Linked DNA regions of Homo sapiens: all the other regions are linked to region 2. Evidence: promoter capture Hi-C in human tissues and cell types (Jung and others, 2019). All regions are on one chromosome and are shown on one strand. Each heading gives the region's core, a stretch centred on a gene start or on the middle of the fragment in contact. The rest is flanking DNA. Distances are from core to core; before and after follow the strand shown. Region 1 overlaps TG (thyroglobulin). Region 2 holds the start of NDRG1 (N-myc downstream regulated 1). Region 3 overlaps TG (thyroglobulin). Region 4 overlaps PHF20L1 (PHD finger protein 20 like 1).

Region 1 (6,733 bases), core at 454-2,953, 260 kb after region 2:
TGCTTCCCTCCTCAGAGGTGGCTGATGGCCTGTGCTGTGTGCTCACCACGCCCTGCCTGACACAAAGCACGGCTGCCCCAGCAGTGAGGGCCTCCAGCTCACCTGTCACCTTGCGTCAGAAGACTGTGGACTGGAGGAGAGTGTCCAGGTGAGTATGGTGTGTGTATGTGTGTGTGTGTGTGTGTGTGTGTGCATGCAAGTGCTCTGTGAACATGTGAGCACAAAACGGTGTGTGTGCCGAGCACATGAAAACCATGGCCAGAGTCAGCCAGCCCTGCTGAAACTGGGGGGTGAGCACCCCCCACAAGTGTAGACCAAGGGAATCCCTGGGTGCAGGGGCAGCTTCAGGCCTCACGAGGTGTGTGGCAGCTCCCCCTGTTTCTGCAAACATTTACTGAGTCCTTATTCTATGCTAGCAATATACATTCTAGCTGAAATATACCACTTTTCCTTTTCTAATTGTTAGGATCCTAGAAAGTAACACATCCTGTGTAAATTTAATATTATTTAAAACCCACTCACAAAGCTTAAACACATCAGCAGAATCCTACAGTGACTTCTTTGTTTTTTCTAAGAGAAAAAAACTTTCATGGATTTGTTCTGTTTATTCCATTGTCAGCCTGTGAATTTTAAAGGATATCTGTAGTTTGGGATTGGTGGGTTATCTTAATAATTCAGTATCAATCCAGACATCCCATTGGCAAATCAAAGAAAATCAGGATCAAAATTATGCGAGACATGAAGAAAACTGCTCTTTCTTGTAAATAACAAAAATTAATTTTTACTAAAATTTACAGCTGGAAGTGTCAGCCATCCAAGAAAAGAGCAGTTCAGACGGGTTAAGTGATTTGTCCAAGATCACACAGCCCACAAATGTAAGAACCAGAATTAAAATAATGGGTTAGAATAATTGCAGTTAGAGTAGTTAGAGTAATAGGTTAGGGTAATAACTAGAATAGTAAGTTAGGGCCAGGCGCGGTGGCTCACGCCTGTAACCCCAGCACTTTGGGAGGCTGAGGTGGGCAGATCACCTAAGGTCAGGAGTTTGAGACCAGCCTGGCCAACATGGTGAAACCCTGTCTCTACTCAAAATACAAAAAATTAGCTGGGCGTGGTGGTGGATGGTTGTAATCCCAGCTACTCAGGAGGCTAAGGAGGGAGAATCGCTTGAGCCTGGGAGGCAGAGGTTGCAGTGAGCAGAGATTGCACCACTGCACTCCAGCCTGGGCAACAGAGCGAGACTCCATCTTAAAATAAATAAAGAAAAATAATAATAAGTTAGAGAAATAGTCACCAGGATTTTTGTTTTTCTTTTCCTCCTGTTCTCATTCTCTTGCCCTTTATCTCCTCCTCTCTCTATGACTCTCTTTTTTTCCCTTTCTCTACTGCCTTTTCTTCTGGCCCACAGACTGCAGGAGGACCCCGAGGGAACAGAGAACCCGCTTGGGGTAGACGAGTCCCTTTTCAGCTATGGCCTTCGAGAGAGCATTGCCTCTTACCTGTCCCTGACCAGTGAGGACAACACCTCCTTTGATCGAAAGAAGAAAAGCATCTCCCTGATGTATGGTGGCAGCAAGAGAAAGAGCTCATTCTTCTCATCACCACCTTACTTTGAGGACTAGCCAAGAACAGACACAATGGTTCATGCCCAAAAGGAACAGAAGTTCCAACTATTGCCTGGGATCTTGCGAAAAGCGAGGTTCCCTGATCCCTGGGAGCCTCACGTATTTTAGAAGCCAAGAGAAGCCACATGGAGACTCAAATTCGCATCTTCTCTATCCACATCATGACCAAAGGAACCCCTCCCTGGTGTCTGATCAGGGCTGTGGCATCACGAAACATTGGATCATGACATGTCGGGCGATGCTTGGAAGAGCCCAGCATGTATGTATGCACACATTGTGTGTGTGGGAAGGACAAAGCCACTCTCACAAGAAAGGGCACCAGGACTGCTCTCCAAGGAACTGGACCTGTCCAGACAGTTACACTCCAAGGTCATTGGAGAGAACTTCTGTATGGGCAAGCCTGAGAGGGAGAGGAAACAAAAGCTGTGTCCTGGCAGAAGGTCTGGGTTTGCAGATGGGTGCCCTGAATGGAACTACTTTAACTAATCCATAGGGACTTCTGGTATGCTTTCCTCTCTTTTTAAAGGAACTTCGTGACACTAAACATTAGCCCAAAGGACTTCTTAGCCTTCAATTGGGAGATACCTTTGGTCTGCTCCTGCACCAAAGCCATATGGGTGGAAGTCAGTTGGCCTCCCTGGTTCTGCAGAGGGCCAGAAGAATGAGAGAGAGGAAGACTGCTGGCAGGGAAATCGAGGAGGCGAGACTAGAACTGCACCAGCTTCCCTGATGTCTGCAGCCATGGCTTTGCAGCGCAGACAGAGCTTCTCTGGGATGCTGGGATTCTTGCCTGTATGAATGCATCAAGTATTCATTTATTGCCCGAATAGGCATTGCATTAAGTCCTCTGTAAGGTGTCAGGCAAGCCAAAAAAAAAAAAAAGATGCGTAAGTCCTAACCCCCAACAGAGGTGTTCACAGTGTAGACAGGGAAAAAATGTATAAACAAATGTGTAAAAAGAGAAATCAGCTCATGGCTTAGGATGGAATTAGAGACAGGTGAGGGACACTCAGGAGCTCATTTTCCAGCTGCTCTTCAGAGTGGAAGGGCTGGCTGGATCGGGTAGGTAAGAATAGCTGGATTTTTTAGAAAAGAAATGGATACAGTCTAAAGAATTAACTCACCCGGTACTTTATTCTAAGAAGGGTCTGGCATCCATATGAGGAAAAATGCTCAGCTCCAGGAAAGATGGGGAGTCCAAGTGGATTAATGATGTCATGCATAATTTTAAGAGACAAGGGAGAAAACACAATGTATAGCCAGAGAAGGAGAAGCTCCCATCCAAATCCTACTAGGAAGAGAGTGGGCTGCAGATGAATCTGTGACTCATGTTTCCCTGTTTCAAAGGGATCCTGGGGAAGGAGGGGAACATGCTTGCAGTATCTCTCCCTGTCTGTCTGCTCACATAAGCATTCCGTCCATCTGAGCTCATCGTGCTACTGGTATGTGTATGTGCAGTTACACAGTTTTCTGTATCATAGATTCTAGTGTGTTTATACAAGGAGACATCTGTGGTTTCCCCAACCGTTCCAAAAGGCTATTTCAAAGGAACCAGCCAACGTATGAGAAATGAATGTAACACTGTGGACATTGACTTCCCGCATAAGGCAGGGTGACCCCCTGAACTCCAGATGTCTGCACAGTATCTTATGTGTTGTTTTCCGTTGTGACGAATGTGATTGGAACATTTGGGGAGCACCCAGAGGGATTTCTCAGTGGGAAGCATTACACTTTGCTAAATCATGTATTTATTCCTGATTAAAACAAACCTAATAAATATTTAACCCTTGGCACACAGGGAGAGTTTCTGGGTTGAGGAGGATGGGTGGTTCATTCAGAAGCTCAGTGGGTTTCAAATTTTCAAATAAACGTGCAACTAGAGAGAGAGGAGTAAAGATCACCCAGAGAAACCTGGTGCCAGTTAGCAGCTCAGCATCTTCTTTAGGTGTGACCTTAAGAAAAAGCAGATTGTATGACTCTGGGGGGTGTCTTACGAAACTTGAAGATGGGCCTAAGGGATTGAAGGAAACACCAAATTCTGAACGATTGTTATAAAAACGTCCTGCCTAGATTTTCTGCACGTTACTTGTGATAGCTGCGCTATTTGTTCTTCCAAGAATTTCTTTCTGCAGATATTTCTGGACACCTACTAAATAGACACTGCTCAGGTACTGGGGCTATAGCAATGAAAACCAGATGAGGTCTCTGATATCATGGAGCTTGACATCATAAATAAACAAGATGCTTGGTAATGATGGTGATGAGGATGAGGGCAGGCTCCAAGCAGTCACCTGGCAGGCAGGACATCCTTCAGGTCCAGGCTTAGGAAAGGCCTCCAAGCAGAGGCAATGTTTGGGCTGAGGCCTGAAAGATGAGCAGCAAACAGCCTTGTAAAGATCTAGGAAGTGTATGGAGTCAGCAGGAATAATGGGGCAATTCCTGCAGGCAGGAAGAGCAAGACTGCATGCTGAAGGAGCTAAAAGGAGGCAGGGTGGCCAGACTGAGGGAGCTAGGGAAGGAGGGAGTGTGCTTAGGAGGTATCAGGAAGGTCCTGCAGGGCCCTAGAGGGTAGGGGATGGCATAGGGTCCATTCCAGGAGACATGAGGAGCCATTGAAAGGATCCAAGTAGGGGGTAAGACCATTTCACTGATATGTTTAAAAGATCATGCTGTGTGGAGGACAAATCTTTAAAATTCCAGCATTGTATTGTCTATTGACACACAAAGTTTGAAAATAAAGGGGCAAAAAATTTTAATGCAAAAATGAACAAAAGGAAAACCTGTGGTGCATTTTGAGACAAAATGGGATTTAAGGTGAAATAAATTGCATAATGGCAAAGAGAGATGTGCAAAAGGAACAAAACATTAAGAAGAAACAATGATTGCAACCTATGTTAATGGGATGATATAGTTTCAGAATATATTAAGCAACTGAACAGGGACAAATAGATAAGTCAATAATTTTATTTGGAGATTTTAATATACAAATCTCAGAAATTGATACAGTAAGCAAAGATAAGTAAATAAATAAATAGGTAGATAGATTTTGATAACACTATATAACTTTTCTGCCAACAAATGGATAATGTATTAGGTCACAGAGAAAGTACTAATAAATTTCAGAGTCAGAATCTTCCAATTCATGCTCTATGATAATAAAGCAATAAAATTGGAAATCAAATTCCAAAATGATGAATAAAAATTTAAAAATTCTAGGGATCTAAAGTCTAAAAAACAAATCCTTAGGTTAAGAAGAAAATAATGCAATAAATAAAATGTTATAAATAAATGACATATTGCTACTTTTCAAAATTTCATGGGTGTAGCTGATAGAGGGTAAATTATTGCTTGAAATAAATTGATCAGGAAACAAAGAATGAAAGTAATGAGATTAACTTTCAACTTAAGAAGCTAAAGGAACAATAGATAACCAAGGAAACGGGAAGAAGGTAGAAGATAACAATAAGACATCAGTGAAATAGACTTCTGAAAACACAGCCATAGAGAAGATTTTAAAAAGCAAAACATTGTTTAAGTAGACTAATGTGATAAAAATATGAACAAGCATGATCAAGAAAGATGATGGAGAATGAAAGCAAATCAAATGCAGTTCTGCTTGTAACCATACCTAAAGAGGGAGTGTGCCCCTTACCAGCAAAGCCCTAAGACGGCAGGTATGGTCCTCCTTCCTCTCCATCCCCTCCCTACTATCTGGAAGCCCTGGCAGCCCAAACTCAACCCTGCAGATGAGGAAGGCCTTAAGAAATGGCAGAGAAATATCCAGAAGAAACCAGAGCCCTGAGTGATCCAGAGACACCTGGACTGCCCCCTTGGCAGATGTTATGAGAGAGAGAGAGAAAGAAAAAAGAAAATGAACTTTTTTATCCACTAAGCTGCTTTAGTACTGGGTCTCCTCCTTATATCAATTGAGCATTTTGCTTCAATAGGTATAGAAATAAACCCGCCATTATTTGCAGAATAACGAGGAAACTTCATAGAAAATCCAAAGAAACCAACAGGCAAAGCATTAGACGTGACAAAACAGCTCAGCAAATTGCTGAATCCACTTATTTCCTAACACTAGTATTTTCAAACTGGAAAATACAATAGAAAAGAAGACAGCATTGATAATACCAAGCAAATGATGGCATGTGTAGGAACTTACCTCACAATGATTGCACAAAACTTTTATTAAAACATGTTCAAAACTGTACAAAAAGACCTAACAAGGCAAAAATACTACGTTCATGGTTACAGTGTTTACCTGATTCATGAATGCAAGGCTTAACACCATTACAATGTAGTTTTTTTTCTGAAATTAATGACCAAGTCTATGTCACTCCAACTCCCAGCAAAAATATTAGAATAAAACCTCAATAAGCTTATTCTAAAATACATGTAGAAGCATCAAAACTCATGAATATCTTGGTGAATTCTGAATAGACAAGCATAGCATGCTCACACTATGAGATATACTGCAAAAACGATAGAGAACAGTGTTCTGAGTCCAAACCACCATCTCTCTCATCACTTTAGTGGAACTCAGCACTGTCTCTGAACCAAGCGCTGTGCTAAGTGTTAAGGAAACACTAAGCGGATTAAACTCATATAAGTTTTCAAGCACCTAGTCATAGTAGAATTGGAATGAGAGATGTTAGAAAAATAATAAGCATGTAAAATAAGGCACAGTTACTAAGCATTGCTACATATAAGTGTTTTCACTAAGGTGAGATTCTTTCCTTCTGTTTCAAGAGATGAGGAAAGGCTTGGAGGCTTCATTTCAGCTGAGCCCTGAAGGACAGCAGGAACTTTCCAGGTGGATACTGGATATGCTGAACACAGAACAGAGATAAAAAGGCCTGGAGGAAGGCATGGCATTTCCTCAGAAGGGTGATAGCTAGTGAGCCTGGAGTGTAGGATTCATGCAGGATTCATGCAGGAATGGAGTAAAAATCAAGACCAGAAAATTTAGCTTGAGGCTGATTCCTGAGGTCAGGAGTTCACCCTGAGGAATGCAGACTTGGGGCGCTGTCATAGAACAGCAAGGGAAATGTTTTCTGGGTCCGTGAATCATACCACAGAGGACATGACCTTCCCTGTCTGAAGAC
Region 2 (6,281 bases), core at 159-2,658:
AGAGGTGCTGTTTGCCCCTCTCCATATTTCTTTTGTTCCAGAAAACCCTTCTCCAAAACTGGCCCTAATAATCAGAGGGGAAAGCCATGGCCCCTGCCTTGGGGACAGCATGGGTTGGCACAGAAAAGAGGTTTACAATTCAGCAGGAAGTGTTGTGCGTGCGCGCGTGTGTGTCTGTGGAGGCGCAGGGAGGGTCACCTGAGCTTGCCCTGGGTCTGGTCCTGGGCTCAGTGGCAAATTCAACGCTGGGCAGGTGGCCTGAGGACAATGACGGTGCCAGCTGTGAGTCAGACTTCCTTTATTCATAAAATCATGTTCCTCCATGCAGTGCTTCTCAACCTGGCTGCACGTCAGGAGCCACCTGGGTAGCTTTGTAAAAACCCCAATGCCCAGTTGGTTTGCACCCCCTGAGATTCTGATTAAACTGTTCTGGAGTCCATCTCTCTCTTTTTATTATCTATCTATTTATTTATTTTTTAATTTGGCGGCTCCTCTGGGACTTCTCATATGCAGTAGGGGTTGAGAATTGCTGGTTTCTTTGGCCAGATGGGAACATGCAGGCCAATAGTTACGCACAAACAGAGCAGCAGAGCAGGACGGTGCTAAGGTTGGAAAGGGTGAGTCATGAAAGTTCAGGAAATCAGAATAGGAAGGGGTGAGAATCCTCTCATCTGGGCTTGTGGGGCAGGAGAGAAGAGCCCAGTGGGCAAGGTCCAGTGAGTGTGCTTAGAACTGGGAAGATGAGGGGAAGGGTAAGCGCTGGGCGGCGGTGGGCAAGATGGACGAGATTAAACGGGAGCGAGGATTTCAGCGAGAGCTTTGGCGACACGGAAGGCTGAGAATCGGAGGGAGCCTGTCGGGCGAAAGCGAAGGCGGCTGCTGGGCAGGCAGCCGAATCCGGCTGGAGAGCCGAGCTGGTGAGACCTACAGGAAGTGAAGGGAGTCGCTCAGGGCGTGGCGCAACGAGACTCTTAGAAGAAACTCTGAGGCAGAGATGGGGGGCCTCCGCCCATACGGAGACACAAGGAAGTCCACATGCACACGCACGAGCGCGCACATGAACACGCACAAGCACACAAACGCCTCCTCCGGGCAGGGCACACGCGCCCGCTGCACAGGCCGAGGCCCTGGACTCGGAGGGGACTGCAGAGCCGACCCACAACCCGGGCCCCGATGCCCCTCCCGGCCGCGCCCCTACGACTGCTTGCGCAACAGGCGGCGGCTCCAGTGGGCGCCCGCCGCGCGCTGCCGGAGCCCAGCCCAGCCCGGCGCGCCCGGGAGGAGGGAGCAGGGAGCGGGGAAGGGGTGTGTCCCGGCTGCGTGCTGGGACTGCGAGGGTCTGGGAGGGGCGAGGCGCGGGGGCGGGGCCGCGGCGCCTATAAAGTCGCCCTCCGCCCGGACGTAAACAAACCTCGCCTGGCTCCCAGCTGGTGCTGAAGCTCGTCAGTTCACCATCCGCCCTCGGCTTCCGCGGGGCGCTGGGCCGCCAGCCTCGGCACCGTCCTTTCCTTTCTCCCTCGCGTTAGGTAAGCCCGCGCCCTCTTCTCCCAGGCGCGACGCGGAGCAGAAAGGGGCCGCCCGTGCGGTGCCGCTGGAGCGCCAGGACCGCCCTTTGTAGCCCCGCGTACTCCAGGAGTAAGCGCCCCGGAGCTGCAAGTGCGCGGTCACCCCGGGGCGCGGGCGCGAGGGGGCTTTGGGTGCAGACACCGCTGAAGTGGGGGGTTCAATTACGGAAAGGGAGGAAAAAAAGACAGGGTCCCATTCATCTCCCCCCTAGCTGGGGATTGGGGTTCTGGAGGTCGGGAAGGGGGCGATGAGACGGTCCGAAAAAATACCAGGATAGCGTTTCCTGGCGTCGTCTCCGAATCCCAGCTGGCGCCGCTGGCAGGGGTGCGCGCTGGACGTGGGTGCAGAAGGGACTAGGTGAGTGTGTGTGTGTGTGTGTGTGTGTGTGTGTGTGTGTGTCTGTGTCTGGGAACGGAGAGATTGCGCGCGAGTGTGTAGATGAGGGGTTGGTAGAGGTGAGTGGCGCTGGCAAGGAGGCTGGAGAGGGGGGCGTGGGTGTGTCTGGCTTGCAGACTGGGTCGGGAACGGGTGTGGATCCGAGAGGCTGGTGGCGCTTCAGTCCCGTAGCACACACAGGGCGGTGTGCATGTGTGAGTGTAAGCGTGTGTGTGGGGGGAGGGTCCAGGGTGTGTCACAGTGCAACACGCGAGCCGGAGCAAGTGTCTGCGAGCGCCACTGGGCAGGGTGCGCCCCCGGAGGAACCCGGGATTGGCGCATCGGCGGCGTGGGAGAAGTGACCTGGGCGAGAGGGGTCTCGCGGACATTTGGCGGCCCCTTGAGCTGGCTGGAGCTAGGAGTGGCGTCATTTTCGCCTCCGCCCACCCTCCCCCGCTTTCCTCCCCTCCCCTGCCTCTGGTGCTGGCCGCTCCTGCCCTCCACGGGGGAAAACAGCTGGAATTACTTCGACGTTCCTGGGGGATCCGCCGCGGTCTCTGATTCAGCCTCGGGAGGAGATTTCGGGCTGGGCTTGGGGAATGCGGCTGGTTCTGGGGGAAACACGCTGTCACGCCTCTGTCAAATTAGTAGCTGGAGCTGGGATTTAGTGGGTCGGTTCCTTACCCACCCCTCCCCCATATCCCCCGCCTGTTGTCCCTGCTGTCCCTGGGGGTCCTGAACAGCACGCCTCTGTGGCTTGGAAGTGGGAGATGCCTGGCAGTGGGTGGGGGAGGCAGGGCCCTTGGTTATCTTATGCCCATCCAAGAACACCCCTTCCTCACGGACGCTGGGGGCACTTCAGTTTGTTTGGTTTCTTTAAGCTACTGGGAAATATCTAATATTCAGAAGTCAGCCAGTGGCCAGGCAGGAGGGCGGTAGACATCCTTATAATACCCATCAGCTGCACGGGACCTTCTCCTAAGCTGCCTCAAAAGAACATATCTAAATACAAACCCCCTGTTCTTGCTGCAGAAATGTAGTTTCAAGGCGAATTTTTCAGTCTAGACTCTTCCTGTTGAGAAATTCTGGCGTTCTTATTGAGTTTCACAAATGTGATTGAAATAAGCAAGGTACAGAGGGGGCAAACCCCAGCGCCTTTCTTGGAAGGGCTGCCTTCTGGTGGGGAAGACACACGGCTGGAGACGCAGACCGGTTCTGTGTGGTGTGTGTGGCGGCAGAGCCAGCCCCAGGCTGGGGTGGCACAGTGTCGGGGATGAAGGAAGGTGTAAGGGAGAGAGAGGGTTTTGGTGTGGATGGAAAACTGGGTGTTCCCCTGACCTGTGACTTCTTAGCTTTGTGGGACCGTGTCTCCCACTGCATCTGGGCAAGGAGGAGGATTTGCCTGCCCTGCCCTGTAACCTGGCCCCTGGCCCAGCGCCTGGCAGGTGGGAGGAGTTGAAATATGCACATGGGATGAAGTGGATGGCTCTGGGTCTTCTGCCCCATTCTCCTGTGAACCAGCAGGTTGAGTTTCGGGCGAGGTAATAGACTGTGCATGGGTGGAGGTGTTGGCTTTTGCTTTTGAGGGATCCTGGAGTGTCTGTTTGGGTCTCTTGTGAGGAAGTTCTTTTGGAGCAACAAAGTTTGATCATTTGGAATGGAATAAAAAACTCACACAGGACCTACCTAGTCCAACTTCTTTCCATTTTACAGATGGAAAATGAGGCACAGGGATGGGGAGGGATGTGCCCAGGCCGAACTGAGCTGGAGCTCAGCTTTGTGAGAGGCTCCTGGGTGGGACTGAAGGCAGTGGAAAGGGTTCCTGGCAGGATTTTGCCTGCCTGCTATGGAGGGGCGAAAGGAAATTGCATCTTCATTGAATTTCTGGTGAGGAAACTTTTGAGGCCAAAGGGGCAGAGCGGAATGATTTTTTTTAAGTGTAAATCAGGTGTTCTTGAGAGATTAGCAAAGCCAGCCTGAAGGGCAGGGGCTTAGAGGCTGCAGCCCCCTGAGTTGGCCTTTGACTGAATGGGGCTGCCCCCCCCCCATGACAGAAGACAGATCTCAACTGAGCTGAGGGCCCCCCTGGGTTACGTTGAAATCCGCTGGCCTGAACTTGCCTCCTCATGGACCTGAAAGAAAGATAGCATTGTGTTTTTCGGGTGGCCCAAAGCTGCAGTTCTTCCTTGGGACCCAACCCCAGAGAATCCCATTCCAGATGTGACTCAGAGGCCTTGTCCTGGGAGAGAAAGCGTGATGACTCAGCATCTGAGACTCAAGCAGGGTTCAGGTTTGACTCAGCCTGGAAGGAAGGCCAGGGAGGGACACGACATCTCTCTCCCTCCAGAGCAGCCACTGTCTCCCTCCATCTGCCTTCATCCTCGCAAGAACGTTGCCTGGATCGTATTGCTCCATTGAATGGATGAGGCAACTGAGGCCAGGAGAGTTTCAGGATTTGCCTGTTGCCATATGGCTCAGGTGGGAGAGCCAGACTTTGAACCCGGACAGTTGGACTTCAGAGCCTTTGTTTTTTTTCCATGACAACATGTTGGGGCGCCTGAAGAAATCAGGCTCAAATGAAAAGGCAGTCAGGAGCTCCATGCCTCAGTTTGCTTTTCTGTAAAATGAGAGTAACAGACATGATGCCATCAGAATGTGTAAATATTAATCTGTGTAACCTGAGAACAGCACTGAGCATGTGGAAAACAGCGTGTAGGTGTTTGCCGTCAGTAGCACCCGCAGAAGACATTCTCAAGGCATCTTCTTGGCAGGCAGAGTCTGGGACCCTTTGTCCTAAACCTACCCAAGGCTGTGAAAGTGCCTGCAAATGCTTGACCTAGGTATTGCTTTTTGCTAAGCTTATGTAGGTTGCATAATAGTGTCATGAAAATCTTGTCTGAAATGCACATTTCCAGGCCCGGTCTCCTGCGATTCTCTCTCCATCAGGGGATATGCTGTTGTTTCAAAGCTCCTTTGGCTGGGTTGGGAATGGGGTATCCTGCAGGCAGACAGAGTTGAGAACCTCTGCTCTGGAATGACAGGGGAGAGAAGAAGGAAGGTGTAGTCATACATGCCGCTGTACCTTCAGGCCACCCTGTGTCCACAGTGCCAGGGAATTAGTGAGTGCTCAGTAAATAGCTCTTGTTTGCTATAGTGCCTTGGAGGTTCAATGCATCACATCAGCTAACTGAGGTAGAAGACATTCTTTCCACCTCTCAGGTCAGAAAATTGAGGCTCAGGCTGGTGACTCTTCTGTCCAGAGTCCAGTGAGTGGGGTTCTGCCCAAGGTGAGCCTCCTGAGCCCTTTCCACCCTCCAACATTGCGCTTGGAGGCCACCCACACCCTCTGGGCCCACCTTTTGAGAAGGAGCTTGTTTCCTGGATCCACCCCAGGCTGTTGTTCCTGCCTCCCTTGATGGCTGTGTGATGGAAGTACCGCGTGTCCACTTGCTTTTTATCTTTCAACTTGGAGATAGAGGCAGGCTAGATAGCGGTCTTGGCTGAGAACTTAGCCCAGGCAGGTAGGCAGAAGGGCTGGGGACACTGAGGCCCCACAGGAAGGCGGCTGCAGAGGTAGAGGGCCATGAGTAGGTGCCAACCTGGAGCCGTGTTCTCGGGGTGGGGGCCATGTGAAAAGAAACCTGGGCTCCCTCGGGTGGGGCGTAAGCCCCAGCACTACAGAATGGGAATGGATTACACAATCGGGGCCATAAGCAGGTCTCTTTGACCCAGATCTTTGACTTTCCCACCTAACATTGTTTGCAGACCTGCCTATGCCCTACCTGCCTGGGCTCCATCTCTGACCTTTTGAGTCCAGCGGGTTTTCTTGCAACTGAGCTGGTAGAAAGTGAGGCTCCTTAACAGTCTGGGGGCCTTGAGTGCCCTCCCCAGCAGTTTAATCTTTCCTTTCTTTAAATCTGTGGGGAGACTTTCTGCAGCTATACATTTTAAATCTGCATAGAGTTCTGTTTGAAGAGAGGTGGGTGGGGGCCCAGGTCTCCACCTTGTTCTCCTGCCTTCACCCTCTGCCCCACCCCCACGGAACCTAAGAAGATTCCAAGTAACCCTCTTCAAATATGGATGTGAGAGGGCCATTTAAGAGGTGGGTCTATGGCCTCTCTCAGCTGGGAATGCTTACCATCTCTCCTTCCTCCTTTTTAATCATGGAACTCTCCTCCTTTCTCCAGAAAGGCCTCCTTGGCTGTCCTCTGCTGGAGGGGAGGCTGGGTTGGGTCCTTCCTGGGACCTGTCCATGTCTCCCATGAAACCTGAGAGCCTGTCCTTAGTAGGTGTTGTGTTAGTGGTGGTGGAAAGGACATCTCCACTGATTAAGGAAGTAA
Region 3 (6,427 bases), core at 3,467-5,966, 350 kb after region 2:
GCTGCTGCTTCAATTTCCTCTTCCTTTTTCTCCTCCCCTTCTGCCTCATTTCCCATCATATTCACTCTCTCTCTTTCTCTCTCTCTCGCTCTCGCTCTCACTCTCGCTCTCGCTCACTCTCGCTCTTGCTCTCGCTCTCTCACATGCACACACACACACAAGATCAACCTTGAAGGGTCTCATAAAGGAGTACTTAGATTCAAAGTAAGAAACTTTTTTTGGGGGGGGACGGAGTAAGAAACTATTAAAAACTAAGACCTATGCACCAATGACACATATTTCCCTGTTAGGAAGTGAGCTCCTCGTCTTTGGACATATCCAAGCAGAGACTGTGTGTCCATATGCCTAGGATGTGTGGAGAGAAATCTGTAACTAGGGGAGATGACATTGGACTCTTTTATCTTGAATATGTCTCCTGACTCTGAATTTTAAAAAGCTACCCAAAAATTATGACTTTGTTTAGCATCAGAAAGACCTACTCCCAAGGTAATCGAATTTGATAGTGATTTTAGCTGGATACATTCAAGTAACTCACACGTTTTTTTATATCTGCTATGTGCCAGCCACTGTGGTAAGTCTTTAAGTATATTAATTCCCTTAATTCTTATAGACATTATTATCTCCATTTTACTGATGAGGAAACTGAGTCTCATGTAAGTTAATTAAGCTGCTTGAGGATATTCAGATTTATAAATTTATATCTATGCCATTTGGATAAATAAACCTTTTAGGGAGTAGAGTTGTTCAGACTCTCCTGGAAAAAAAAAAAAGGGCAATATATTATCCCACAACTCCTACTCCATTCCTCATTCTAATTTCCTAATTTATGTCCAATCTGGATCTAGTTCAAAACAATTCTATCTCCAAAATTTCCCCAGAGTAGGTGACTCATGGATGTCTGGCTTAAAAATTTCACATTGTGTCCTTTTCTCTTCTGCTGGCCACTGTTAAACTGCAGTAGTTAAAAAACCAGCAGCAGTGAATCTCTGAATTTTTTTAAGTGGCCTTCCAGGTCATCTCATATGGTGGTTTCTGAACAAGGATGCTTAGACTGATGACATCAGAAATGCAGGGAGGGTTTTGAAAATGCTCATTTCTAGGTATCAACCACAGAGTTTCTGACTTGGTAGGTCACGTGTATGGGGCGGGGTGCATTTGGACATACATGTTTGTAAAGAGCACCATGGAGAATCACTGACCTAGTTAGACCACCTCGTTTTACAGATGGGGAAACCGAGGCACAGAAAGGAAGAATGGTTTGTCTAGGAGCTAAGAAATTGTGGAATGGCCAGCAGGCAGCAAGAGCCTCAGCAAGGTGCAGGCTTGAGGGCCGGCTGTGGAACGTGAGGGCAGCACCAGCAAGGGGCACACTCAGAGCCCAGGAGAGTTCGAGGAAGGCTGATCACTGTGGTCTGGCTCACTTGAAAGCCAGGAAACAGAATGATGGAATTAACAAGAGGCAGAGTGCGTTTTTCCTTTTGCTCTCAGACCTCAGTAGAGAAACCCATGCAGCTTTCCTCTTTAACTAGTGCCAAATGTCCCTGAGAAGGCTGTGCCTGAGAGGTAGGGGCCAGGGAGAGGCTGGAAGTCACTTTGCTGGTCATACATTGCCAGCTTAGCTTCAGTTGCACTCCTGTGACCCTGAGGCCATTCAAGGCCCTCAGAGCCCCACTTCCAAGCAGTCTCCACTAAAATGTAGTTCAGAAGCCCCATGAATTTTCATTAATAACTCTCAGTGGAAACAAAGCCTTAGAGGGGTGGAGATTGGAGGAGGCTAGAGACTTGTTGGGAGGGGAGAAAGGAAAGGAGGGGAAGGAGGGGAATCCACCAGAGCTAAATGACTTTCCAGACTGTGGTAAAGGATGTAGTGGAATTCTGTTCCTGGTCGTCAGCAGATCCAGCCAAATCTTCATAAGTTAAAACTCCAGATTTGCCCACTGGACAAGACTGGGGAAAACATCTGCCCGATACTTTATGTGTATCTCAAAGAAGGCTTGACTTTCAGCACTGCGAGGTGAGTGTTTAGTTCAACATAATTCACAGATCACAGGTTAAACTTGGAGGGAAAAGCAAGCAAGCTGCCAGCCAGAAATATCATGGAAAAAAAGGATTTTGTGGGCTTACCACTCCATGGAACAAAAACATTCTTCCATATATGATCCTAAGGAAAACGAAATCAACCTTTCCAGCTTGAAAAAAATCATATGGTCTGGTGAGTCATTGTGCATCTGGGGAAATTGTGGTATCTTCAGAAAATACATTTAGTTCAAAGAGGAATCCTGGATTTGAGTTATGTTGTTTCTAAATATAGATATACATCAAGACAAATATAGGGTGTGTGTGTGTGTGTGTGTGTGTGTGTGTGTGTGTAACATATTTTTCCTATCTAAACACTAACAGGAATCCACATCACATAATCATAGAACATTAAATGTAGAAGGAATTTTAGGAATCAGCTCATTCCAATCTGTGTTCCTGCCCCACCACTCCAACAAAACATTCTCATTTTAGCCACCTCAACCACTGTGAGCTAAACTCAGCATTTTTCAGGAATCACCTTGTTTGAACTCTCAGCAGCACTCAAGACTGTTGACAACTTCCTCACCATGCAACGCTCTCCCACCCTAGCTTTCGCGAGGATCCACTATCCCCATCTCCTTCTCCCCCTCTGGCTGCTCCTTCTCTATCTCTTTGCATATTCTCTACCTGTTATGTAGCTGTTCATCAAGATCAGCTCCATCCCCCTTTATCTCCTCATTCTGCACCCTCCTCCTAGAAAACTGCATTCATATCCACACATTTGATACCACCTCGAAGCTGTAATTTACACATTTATATCTCCCATCCACACTTCCCTTCTGAGCTCTCGATCTTTGCATCTAAAAACTCAGCTGACATTTTTTGGATGTCTCAAAAGTCACTTCAAACTTAGTATACCCCACATGGACCCACGGCCTTCCTAAATCTCCCTCTCCCATCGCCAAATTGGACATCCAATCTCTTTCATTCTTTGCCACACAACAGGTGAACAAGCTAGATACCCAAGAATAATCATTGACACCTCTTCCTCAACCCCCAAATTCAAAGTCTTATTGAATTTGCCTCCTGGGGATGCTTTAAATCTGTCTTCTATTCCCCCTCTCCACTGCAATAGCCCTAGCCCAGGATACCATACCTTCTACCCTGGACTACTGCGACAGTTTCTAACTCATCTCTGCATCTACTCTGACCCCTAGCCACAACCTTCTCCACATTCAAGCCATGACATGACAAGCGCTCACGTCAAAGTTCAAATCTGATCATGACACTTCCTTGCTTAAAACATTCAGTGGCTTCCAGTCGTTATTAGAATAAAAACAACTATTCATGCCGCCTACAAGGTTCTCCTCACTGTGGCCTGGCCTCTCCCTCCCGCCCCTTAAACCTCTGGCCTTGTACTCTCTGCTCCAGGGACCACGGCTTCCTCTAGGCTTCTCTTCTTTATCCTGCACCCTCTTCCCACAGGGACTTTGCATATGCTATTCTTTCCATTTAACATCACCTTCCCTCTTCTCTTTATCTCATTTAAACTACACATGATTCAAGATTTCGGAAAGTCTTAATTTATCTCTCTGAATGGGGCAAAAGACTTATTACATGTTTTCAATGCAATATTCACTTGTCTTCAGAGTCTAGCAATTAACAATTATCCTTTTCTCCCTCTGGACCTGAGAGGAGGAGGTGGAAACAGTGGGGGTGGGAGGGGGAGTAGAGCACAAGTGTCTATGTCATAAGTCAGGAAAGCCAAGTTCCCTTTGCTGACCACTGGAACACGGGCATCTGGCAGGTCACTTCCCCACTTTGGGGTCTGCCCAATTCAGCAGCATTCCTCTGCACCTACAGTGAGCATGGCTGTCCTAAAGGCTGAGGATAAATAACTCTTTCATAGCCTGGGGAGTTCGAATCCACCAGGGAGATGGATATGTGGACTTGGATACAAAAAGAAGGGACAAAATAGTACTCCAGGAGGAGGAAATCACAAGGAGAGCCTAAAGTTGAATAGGATGACTTGGAGGATGGGGAATCTAGTCAAGTAGTGGGGGTTGGTGGTGAGAGGCCAATTAAGAGACTGGTACAGGTGCCAAGAAAATAATAATACAGGCTTAAATGCAGACTGAGGTGACAGGGATGGAATACACCTCGATCTCAAACAAAATAATAAGAGAGCAACAGGAAATTGGAGTGACAGCTTCACAGAAGGGAAGAGGGCTGTGGGGCATTCAGCATGATCCCAGGTCTGTGGCTCAGGTGCCCTTCACTGAGATCGGCTGGTTTAGGGTAAAAACTATCCATTCATTTGACTTTGAGATTCCTAACGGATGTCCAAGAGGATATATCTGGACAGCAGATGCGTGTATGGATGTCGACCTCTGCAGAGAGGTCACACCCAGAACACAGACCCACAAGAGGTGGAGGTGGGACCTATCAATATCTAAGGATTCAACCCAGAAAGCTGAAGGAGAAGAGAAGGCACAGTTTAAGGAGCAAGAGAAGGGCATCTTGGAGGTCAGGAGAGGAGAAGGTGGAAATAACTGGACAGCAGGAAATAGTGACAGCTGCCAGAGACAACAGGCCTTCAGAGGATCAGAAGATGCCCCTGGTGACTGGAGAGCTGGTAGAAGCAGTTTGGGGGTGAGACAGGGTCTCAGCTTGCAGGGTCTGGCTGTGGTAGAGAAGGAGAGCAACCGGAAAGGCACTCGAGGGAAGGTCGGAGGTCATGGACTCTGTGGTGCCATGCACATGTTGGATTTTAAGAAGGGAGAAGGGCTAAGAACAATGTATCTGCCTTCTGCTGGGGAGCCCTGGAAAACACTGGGCTGGTGACAGGTGGAGAGCAGGGAGGAGGGCAGGGGCATTGTACTTGGCTGTTCTAGCAATGCTATAGAGAAATACCTGAGGCCGGGTAATTTATAAAGTAAAGAGATTTAATTGGCTCATGATTCTGCAGATAGTACAAGAAACATGGTGCTGGCATCTACTGCTGGTGAGGCCTCAGGAAGCTTACATTCATGACAGAAGGTGAAGGGGGAGCAGGCATGTTACAGGAGATCAGGAGTTAGAGAGAGGGGGAGGTGGCATATACTTTTAAGGATCTTGCAAGAAGAACTCACTCACTGTCACGAGGATAGCACCAAGCCATTCACCCCTGTTACCCAACACCTCCCACTAGGCCTCACCTCCAACACTGGGGATCACATTTCAACATGAGATGAGGAGGGACAAACATCCAAATTGTATCAGGCATGGGCCTGCAAAGGTAAGACAAGGGGCTCTTATACCCAGGAGGCAGGGTTAGTCCTTCTCAGAAGGAGACATCCTCTACCCTGAGCCTGGTGGGGATATTGTGCAGATGCTGGAGGCAGCAACAGTCCTCGAGGTGATACCAAAAAACACCTGCTTCCTGATCAGCTCCATGTCTCAGTTAATAGCCTTCAGAAAACCTGGGGTCTCTCTGTCTCTAGCTCAGCTCACAAGGACACCCACTCTGAACCAAATCCTCCCACTCTGTCATCTAAGTACTGCTCATCCCACAAAGCCTGGCCCAAGTTCCTCTTCTTCCTGGAAGCCTTCCCTGACCTTCCTCTTGTTATCCTCTTCCTTCACACTCCAAGACTTCTACGTCTCTACCTCATCAGGCATTTGCATCGCACACTGCCTAGTTCTCAAGCCTGATGCCGAGTAGTGCTCCAAACATGTTTGCTGAACGCCAGCAGCGATGAATAAATGAGTAAAGGCCATTTATTCCCCTTTCACGGTGCACACTGCCTCTCCCACCAGACCCAAAGTCCTTTTTATCTGTTTGTAATGCCTAGAACATTCCATTGCACATATATGGTGATCAATTGGAGTCTCCTGTTGACTTAAGTGAGAACCATAACAAGATATATCAGACTATTTCAATTTTTTCTAATCTTTAGAATTTTTCATAAATTTAATGTGACCAGTCACATAGTGGCTTACAGTTTGATGCTGCTAAGGAGAAACAGGATTGGTTTTCATATAAAACAGTTAAGACTCTCTTAGTCAATCAATGGCACACCAGGAGCCAAATCTATACGCAGCATTTTGCACTCATTATCTTTATAACAAGTAGTCCAGTAGAAAGTATCATTATCTCTATTTTATAAACAAGGGAAGTGCAACTTCATTAAGTAACTTGTCCAAGATCGCACAGCCAGAAAGTGACAGCAGTGACTAGAACCCAGGTCCATAACACCAAAGTCCCTTCTCAACCACTAGGCTACACTGCTGAGTACATGAATTTATTTCCATAAACAGAAGGGCACCTCCATTGCTGAGATACTATTCAAAATGATAGGCCTATTGATCACAGGACCTGGTATGCAGTGGGCACTCAATAGATCATTGTTGAATGAATGATGGTGGG
Region 4 (6,262 bases), core at 2,399-4,898, 480 kb after region 2:
GAAGCAAAGCCTGATGCATTTCATCGAATGCTACCCGAAAACTCAGGGGACCTGCTCATGGACATCCTGACGTTACATAAAGGTACACTCTGCATGGCCACGTCAAGCCAACATTCCTATCCATGCTAACTAAGACATGCTGCAATAAAACAGGAAAATGCTCCTTGAAACTTATTTACTAATTTGCTAAAAAATAAAAAAAAAATGAAGATGGGTTACTAAAGGTATTTCTTTTAATACAAGAATAACTTTTTAAAATGGCTCAAAATTATATGCATACAACCTACTAATGCCAATTTTGTCTTCACAGTGGTTACAAACAATAAGTTATCATCTCTAAGGCTATCTTAATTGACGTTTTTAAGCAAAAATAATCCTACATCATAATCTTTTTTTGGAATAAACATAGACTCTATCAAATGCCTGATTAATGATAAGTAAAACATCAACATTGTAGAGCCAAAAGTGACCACAGACATCATCTACTATAATCTCATCATATAGATGAAAAACTGAGTTTCAAGGAAGCAGGAAGAGAAGGCAGATGGTTTGTCTCTCCAGAGTTTTTAAGAGGCTCTACCAGAGGCCTCTTGGGGCAATCTTTTGTTCCTTTACACCCAAGAGTACTTTACACCTATTCAGGCACTTAATCTTGCTTTAAATATTTGTATTTCAGTTATTAGCTTTGTGTCCCTTCTAGACTCTAAGTTTCCAGAAGGCAGATTCCACATCTGTTCACACTGTGCTTCCCACCTAAAGAGAATTGTGTTGACAAGGGGCAATAGATAACTGTTGGCCCAAGGTGCCTGTGAGAACCTGAACCAAGAGTATTTTTCAAAAGACCCCTTTTCAAAAAACTTGATTTACTCTATCCTCCCAGATACTAACAGAATTAAGATTTTCTGAGGCTGTATCCTTATCTAAAATTGGCTGGCTCTGTGACAAAGCATCCTGATAGTAAAATAAAAACAAAGGCATCAATTTTTACAAAGATACCAATTACTTGTTTGGTAATGTAGGCAGCAATAGCATTCTTAACAGTGGCTAGACATGTGGGCATCCACCCCAGCAGAAGAACATACGAGAGATTATTGCAAGTTCATTATCTCTATTGGAAAACAATTAAGAAAAGTTGTATATAATAATTGGACTATCTGCAAATCTCATCAATCCTTCAGCATCAAATGCTAAACTCAACAGTGTGAATTTATCTTGCTCCCCCAAAAGTAAAAACCTAACCATGTTGAACAATTTCACAGTTAGCAACTAACACCCTCATCATTCTAAACTCCCCAAGAGTTTCAATTTGACAAAAATAACTCAGAAAATGTCTCTGACGAACTGTAAAGAATGTTTTCAATTATCAGTTTTAAAATTCAACAGTAAGAAAATTTACTTTTATAATATGGACACCAACAAAACATACATGTGTGTATGAGTATGTGCATATATGTACATATGTATCAGAGAAATAAAAACATAAAAACCTGGCACTTTGGCTCTAGATGTAAAAGGACTTGGGGAACAGACAGAAGCATAACAAATACTGCAAAATAGTCAAGAGAGGGTGAATAACAAAAAGGTTAAGGAGAAAAGCATAGAGACCACCGAGAATTTCAATGCACGTGGGACAGGCACACAAGGTTGTAATCAAAAGGTGTTCAGTCAGAACATGACCTAAATTGCACTACTTTCCTCAAAAACTAAAAATTAAGAGGTCACAGAAACAAATGAGAATTTCACCTCCCTCTATTCAAATACTGTGTTCAACCCTCTAATAAATCTTCAGTAATTAACAATTAAAACTATGCATTTCCTTGCTATAATCAATTAAAGTTGACAGCTACTGTACTATTAAGCTCATCATATCCAGATAATCCTTACTCTTCCACAAATTCAAATTATAGCTAAACTCCTCTCTACCTTTTACTTTCCCAGAAAACGATCTTACTTATTTTACTTTTCCAATAGTTACTGCTAATATTTAAAAAGGGAAAGAATATTCGTGTGCCTTCCTCTAAGGTAGTCAGCCACATTGCCACAAATATGCTAGAAATTCTGAAAAGAGGAAGTTAATAATCTGGTTAGAAGCAAAATCATCGAAGTCAAGGACTTCCATGCACAATCACTACATTGATATTTTATGATATATAATCTGTTAATGTAAGACTCTTAGTTATTACACAGTTACTTATATTGGCCTATATTTCAATATTGTTACAAATATTAGAATACTTTTAAAGAAAAATGTAAATATTTTCACATGTACATTTGAAAATAATTTTCCCAATGTATATACAACCTTATAACTTTAACATATTTTTCATATATTCAGTACGGTAACAAATTCCAGATCGTTAAAGAACCGAATAAGACCTTTATCAAAAAAGTATCTCAATGGGTCAATGACAATTTGGAAATCTTGTGGAAAAGTGGAAAAGAAAAATTAATTATCTTAAGGAAAGACCAAGAGTCAAAAGACAATAGATCTGATTTGAGAAACTACAGGAAATGTTTCAAAATCTACAAATATTCACATTTGGGTATTGTTTTATTTTTTTAAACATGATAAAGAATTATCATGTACAAAGTAACTTCAACCTTTATATAAAGATAAAAATTAATAAAAATAAGTATATGTCTCTTATGTTACTTCAATCATTTTATTTCAATACATGCCATCACCAGAAAAGAATAAGTTTCATTTTATGCTTCATCCAAAAAATGGATAAAATGGTTTCAGGGAAGACGCCTGTAAACACAATGATCACCAACACCCTTGGTAACGAATCAACAAACTGCCTTATGTTTTTCTCCAACTCACAACAAACTAAATTCAGACTTCCTTCAAACATCTAGTTCCAACAGTAATTTACCAGAAGTGCATTTGTAACTAGTATTGGCCTTTTTATTTTATGTGTATTCTAGATCAGGTTATAATTCTTAAAAACTTCTAAATAAAACAATGCACCCACATAAGGGAAACATGAATAGATATTATTAGATTTAAAATATCAGCTTGGTAAAATACACATCCAAATGCTTTCGAACTACAATAAATATCACAAAATCATGCAAAAAATGTGTTATTAAGGATGGCTGATTTTACATATTGCACTCCTCAAATAACTTTACAGCAAATTTAATTCAATTTGGAGGATTCTGCCCCAAAATATGGAATTATATTTAAGATACAGGCATATAGCTCAGTGTTTCTTAAATATTAAATTCTATCAAAATCCTTAAACCAAAGTACTGATCCCATTAAGTATTTCCCAGCTTCAAAAGTAAGAATTCCTGTAACTATACTTGGCTCTAATAATTTATATTTAGTAGAAATAAGGATATATAAAAAAGAAGCAGGGAGAAGGAAATAGATCAAGTGACAAGGTTAAGCAGCATGTATGTCCAGGGAATATGATTGTAAAATGATCACACAAAAGACCTTTAAAACGGAGATGAAACTCTCCTATAAATGTTAAAGTATTTATGAAAAGGAATTATATAGGAATCAAAATAATGTAGTTAAACCTCAAAATGTTTATACCTAATAACTGCAAGCCTAGCTACTTATCTACTTATAGGAGCCTTTATTTTTTTTCTTTTACCTGCTGCTGCTGGAGCTCCTCTTCCATCAGCTATTGCTTTGGAAGAAGGATTTGGAAGCATCTGTGTATCCTCTTTTTCTGCCCTGGGACATTCATTACGGTAAGAGGAATCTGAGGCTACCGGTGCTGTAACTTCTGAACCACGACTTAAGTCAAGAGGGAGACAGGGTCCCAGCTTCTCAAGTGGCAAATGTGCAACATCAGGCACTACACAAAATAAAGAGTGTAATGTAATATTAACACAGATAAAATGGCTCAGTTACTATCACTGTGAATTAAAGTGTTACATAATTTAAACAGTGCCTGGCACAAAGAAGGCACTCAATAAATATTTGTAGAATAAGTGAAGTGCTTATAACTCCAGAAGATATAAGAGCAGAAATATCTTAATATTTTAATAATCTTTATCTCTTAGTTTTTTCTTTATCTTCTTTTATGTTTGGTTCTATAGGAAATCAATATACATTACCCTCTGGTACTGAAGATTCTTGCTGATTTTGAGAACTGATGGAGAATACTTTCCCATCAGTGGCTGGAGAGGGAGAAGAAACCTTTTCTACAGAATCATCAGGCATGGGTAAGGTGGCTAAACGCTGAGATCTTCTTCTCCGCTCACTATGCTTGAAAGGTCTAGGGGGATTCACAGGCTGTGGAGGACCTAGAAAAAGATCTTCAATGTTCACGAAGCAGATACATACCAGGAGCATCTTACAATATTTAAGGAGATAAATGGGAAAAAATGATTTATATTCTTCCCTCTGATGTTGTTATAAGATATCCACAAGGAATGGCATGTTCCAAAGGTAATCAAAGGCAAAAATTGTGCCCTCATTCAAAATGAGTCAATCAAAAATTGTAAAATCTACACTCTACTAGAACTAAAAGAAAATAAAATGGAACATTAATTTCAAGTAGCTCCCCCAAGTGACAGACTACAGTTAATTTCTCTAATTGCAGATCGTTGTGTAAATTGCCATTTTTCCTTCGGGAAAATAGTCTCTTTACAGCAAAAGATAAGGAAAAATATATATATATGTATTCCTTTTGCTACATTGCAAATCTAGAAACTCTAAGGGAAAAAAAGGCAGGGACAAAGATGATACAACATTATAGAGTTAGTGATTTACTTTACACTAATGTAAATAATTTTATCCCATCATCATCCCCCCCAAATGGAGTTTTATAAACATGTCTGGGCCTGATTCATTAAAAAAAAAAAATGAACAAAAACAACTTTGTATACTTATTGTGAGCAAATAATGAGGATATTTAAGATTATGACATTGTGTACTTGTGTTTTTTAACAACTTGGTAAGTAATTTAGGCATCTTCTAGCAATATAATATAAATATTTGGAAATGTCTCTCACACTTTTAGATATCTTCTTTCTACATGGCATACAAACACATTTGACTAGAATAGGCAAGATTATATATGCCAATATATTCATGTTAATTTAGAAAGAGGAAATAAGAACAGTCTAAAGACATTGATGTTTGGGTATTTAAGAGTAATTTTACAATCAAAACGAAAAAGACATGCTGATAACTTAAAAATATGAAAGAATAAAATTTAATTGCTATAATATTGTGGTTATAATACCAAGATATAATTTCCAAAATAAAATGTTTATTAATGTCATATGACATTCCAGTGACTACTACTGACACTATTTCATGATAAATGCCATAATGAAATGAAGCTTATTAGGAAAACAATTGAATTATGTTCCCATTCTTTCCACCTATTAAAAAGAAAAAGCAAAACCTGATCAAAATGAAAAAATGATTCAGTAGAAAATATGGCAACTGAAGGAAAATAGGTTAATAAGTTTGATAAAAGTCTTCTGAATGCCAACATCTTTGATTATTCTGGAAGACACAATATGGAATAAGGAAACATGTCATATTCACTCAACTGATCATGTATTTCATTTTTTGCATAAAGAGCAAAAAAAACCATCATTTACCAACTGACTTTTCAAATAACTGTTATTCATGTCTCCAACTTAGGATACTAAACTAATATGAGAAACTCAGGGTCAACACAAATCTTGTATTATTTATATATACAGATATATAGGGAGATAGATAGATATACCCATGTGAAAGGTGTTTTCGAAAAAGACTGCGTTAACTCTTGAAAAATTAGAAGTACTGAAACAGTAAAATCTTTAAAAATACAATCATGGGGGCATTTTTTTTTCATTAAAAAGATTAAACTGAAGTCTAGACTATAAATATTATAATAAGAATGAATAAAATGTATTGCAGAGGAAAGTTATAGACAAGTGGGGACAAAAAATCTACAGGAATAGTCTTAAGTAAAAATAGCTATCCTGGGTCTTTTTATAACTTTTTTTTTTTGTAATGAATCAGGCCTCTCAGTATGCTTGGATTATGAGTTGAGGAGAGTCAAACTACAGTGGAATCTGTGTTATTAAATGGAAAGGATTCTCAACCAGCAGTAGTCTCTAAGCAATAAATCAGTAAGAAATGTCTATGGTTTTTGCCCCTGAAATAGTTTCAAGCCTTCCCTATCATATCCACTTGAGTTTTTAAAAAGCAACTTCATAAAAATACAATATAACTACAATCAAACTGTTTTTAATGTATCTTATAGGATAAATAACTATTTTTTAAAAATCTGTGCTC

What was found. The method cuts DNA at HindIII sites, captures the fragments that hold promoters and counts their contacts. A contact is called where the count stands out against the background at its distance.
Region 1: a fragment that was not itself captured here is called in contact with the fragment with the promoter of NDRG1 in region 2 in 1 of the 25 tissues and cell types used here (IMR-90 fibroblasts).
Region 3: a contact is called between a fragment that was not itself captured here and the fragment with the promoter of NDRG1 in region 2, in 2 of the 25 tissues and cell types used here (heart left ventricle and thymus).
Region 4: a contact is called between a fragment that was not itself captured here and the fragment with the promoter of NDRG1 in region 2, in 4 of the 25 tissues and cell types used here (adrenal gland, bladder, heart right ventricle and 1 more).

What each region holds. Positions count from the first base shown.
Region 1 is chr8:133,033,413-133,040,145 of GRCh38, reverse strand. All of the region lies in intron 41 of TG (thyroglobulin), which reads right to left. SLA (Src like adaptor) reads left to right here. Exons shown (of 9, transcript NM_001045556.3): 8 at 16-148; 9 at 1,409-3,418. The coding sequence ends at 1,622. Among named protein-coding and RNA genes, the nearest start is that of MIR7848, 9.8 kb to the left of the region's middle. The HindIII fragment of the contact is 3,127 bases long and covers 140-3,266 here.
Region 2 is chr8:133,292,379-133,298,659 of GRCh38, reverse strand. NDRG1 (N-myc downstream regulated 1) reads left to right here and starts at 1,408. Exons shown (of 16, transcript NM_006096.4): 1 at 1,408-1,526. RefSeq lists a silencer at 1,078-1,527 and an enhancer at 3,724-4,923. The HindIII fragment of the contact is 13,971 bases long and covers 1-6,281 here.
Region 3 is chr8:132,941,981-132,948,407 of GRCh38, reverse strand. The region is part of intron 26 of TG (thyroglobulin); the gene reads right to left. Among named protein-coding and RNA genes, the nearest start is that of TG, 78 kb to the right of the region's middle. The HindIII fragment of the contact is 6,430 bases long and covers 1,502-6,427 here.
Region 4 is chr8:132,814,892-132,821,153 of GRCh38, reverse strand. PHF20L1 (PHD finger protein 20 like 1) reads right to left here. Exons shown (of 21, transcript NM_016018.5): 11 at 4,078-4,266; 12 at 3,609-3,815. Among named protein-coding and RNA genes, the nearest start is that of PHF20L1, 43 kb to the right of the region's middle. The HindIII fragment of the contact is 4,931 bases long and covers 1,183-6,113 here.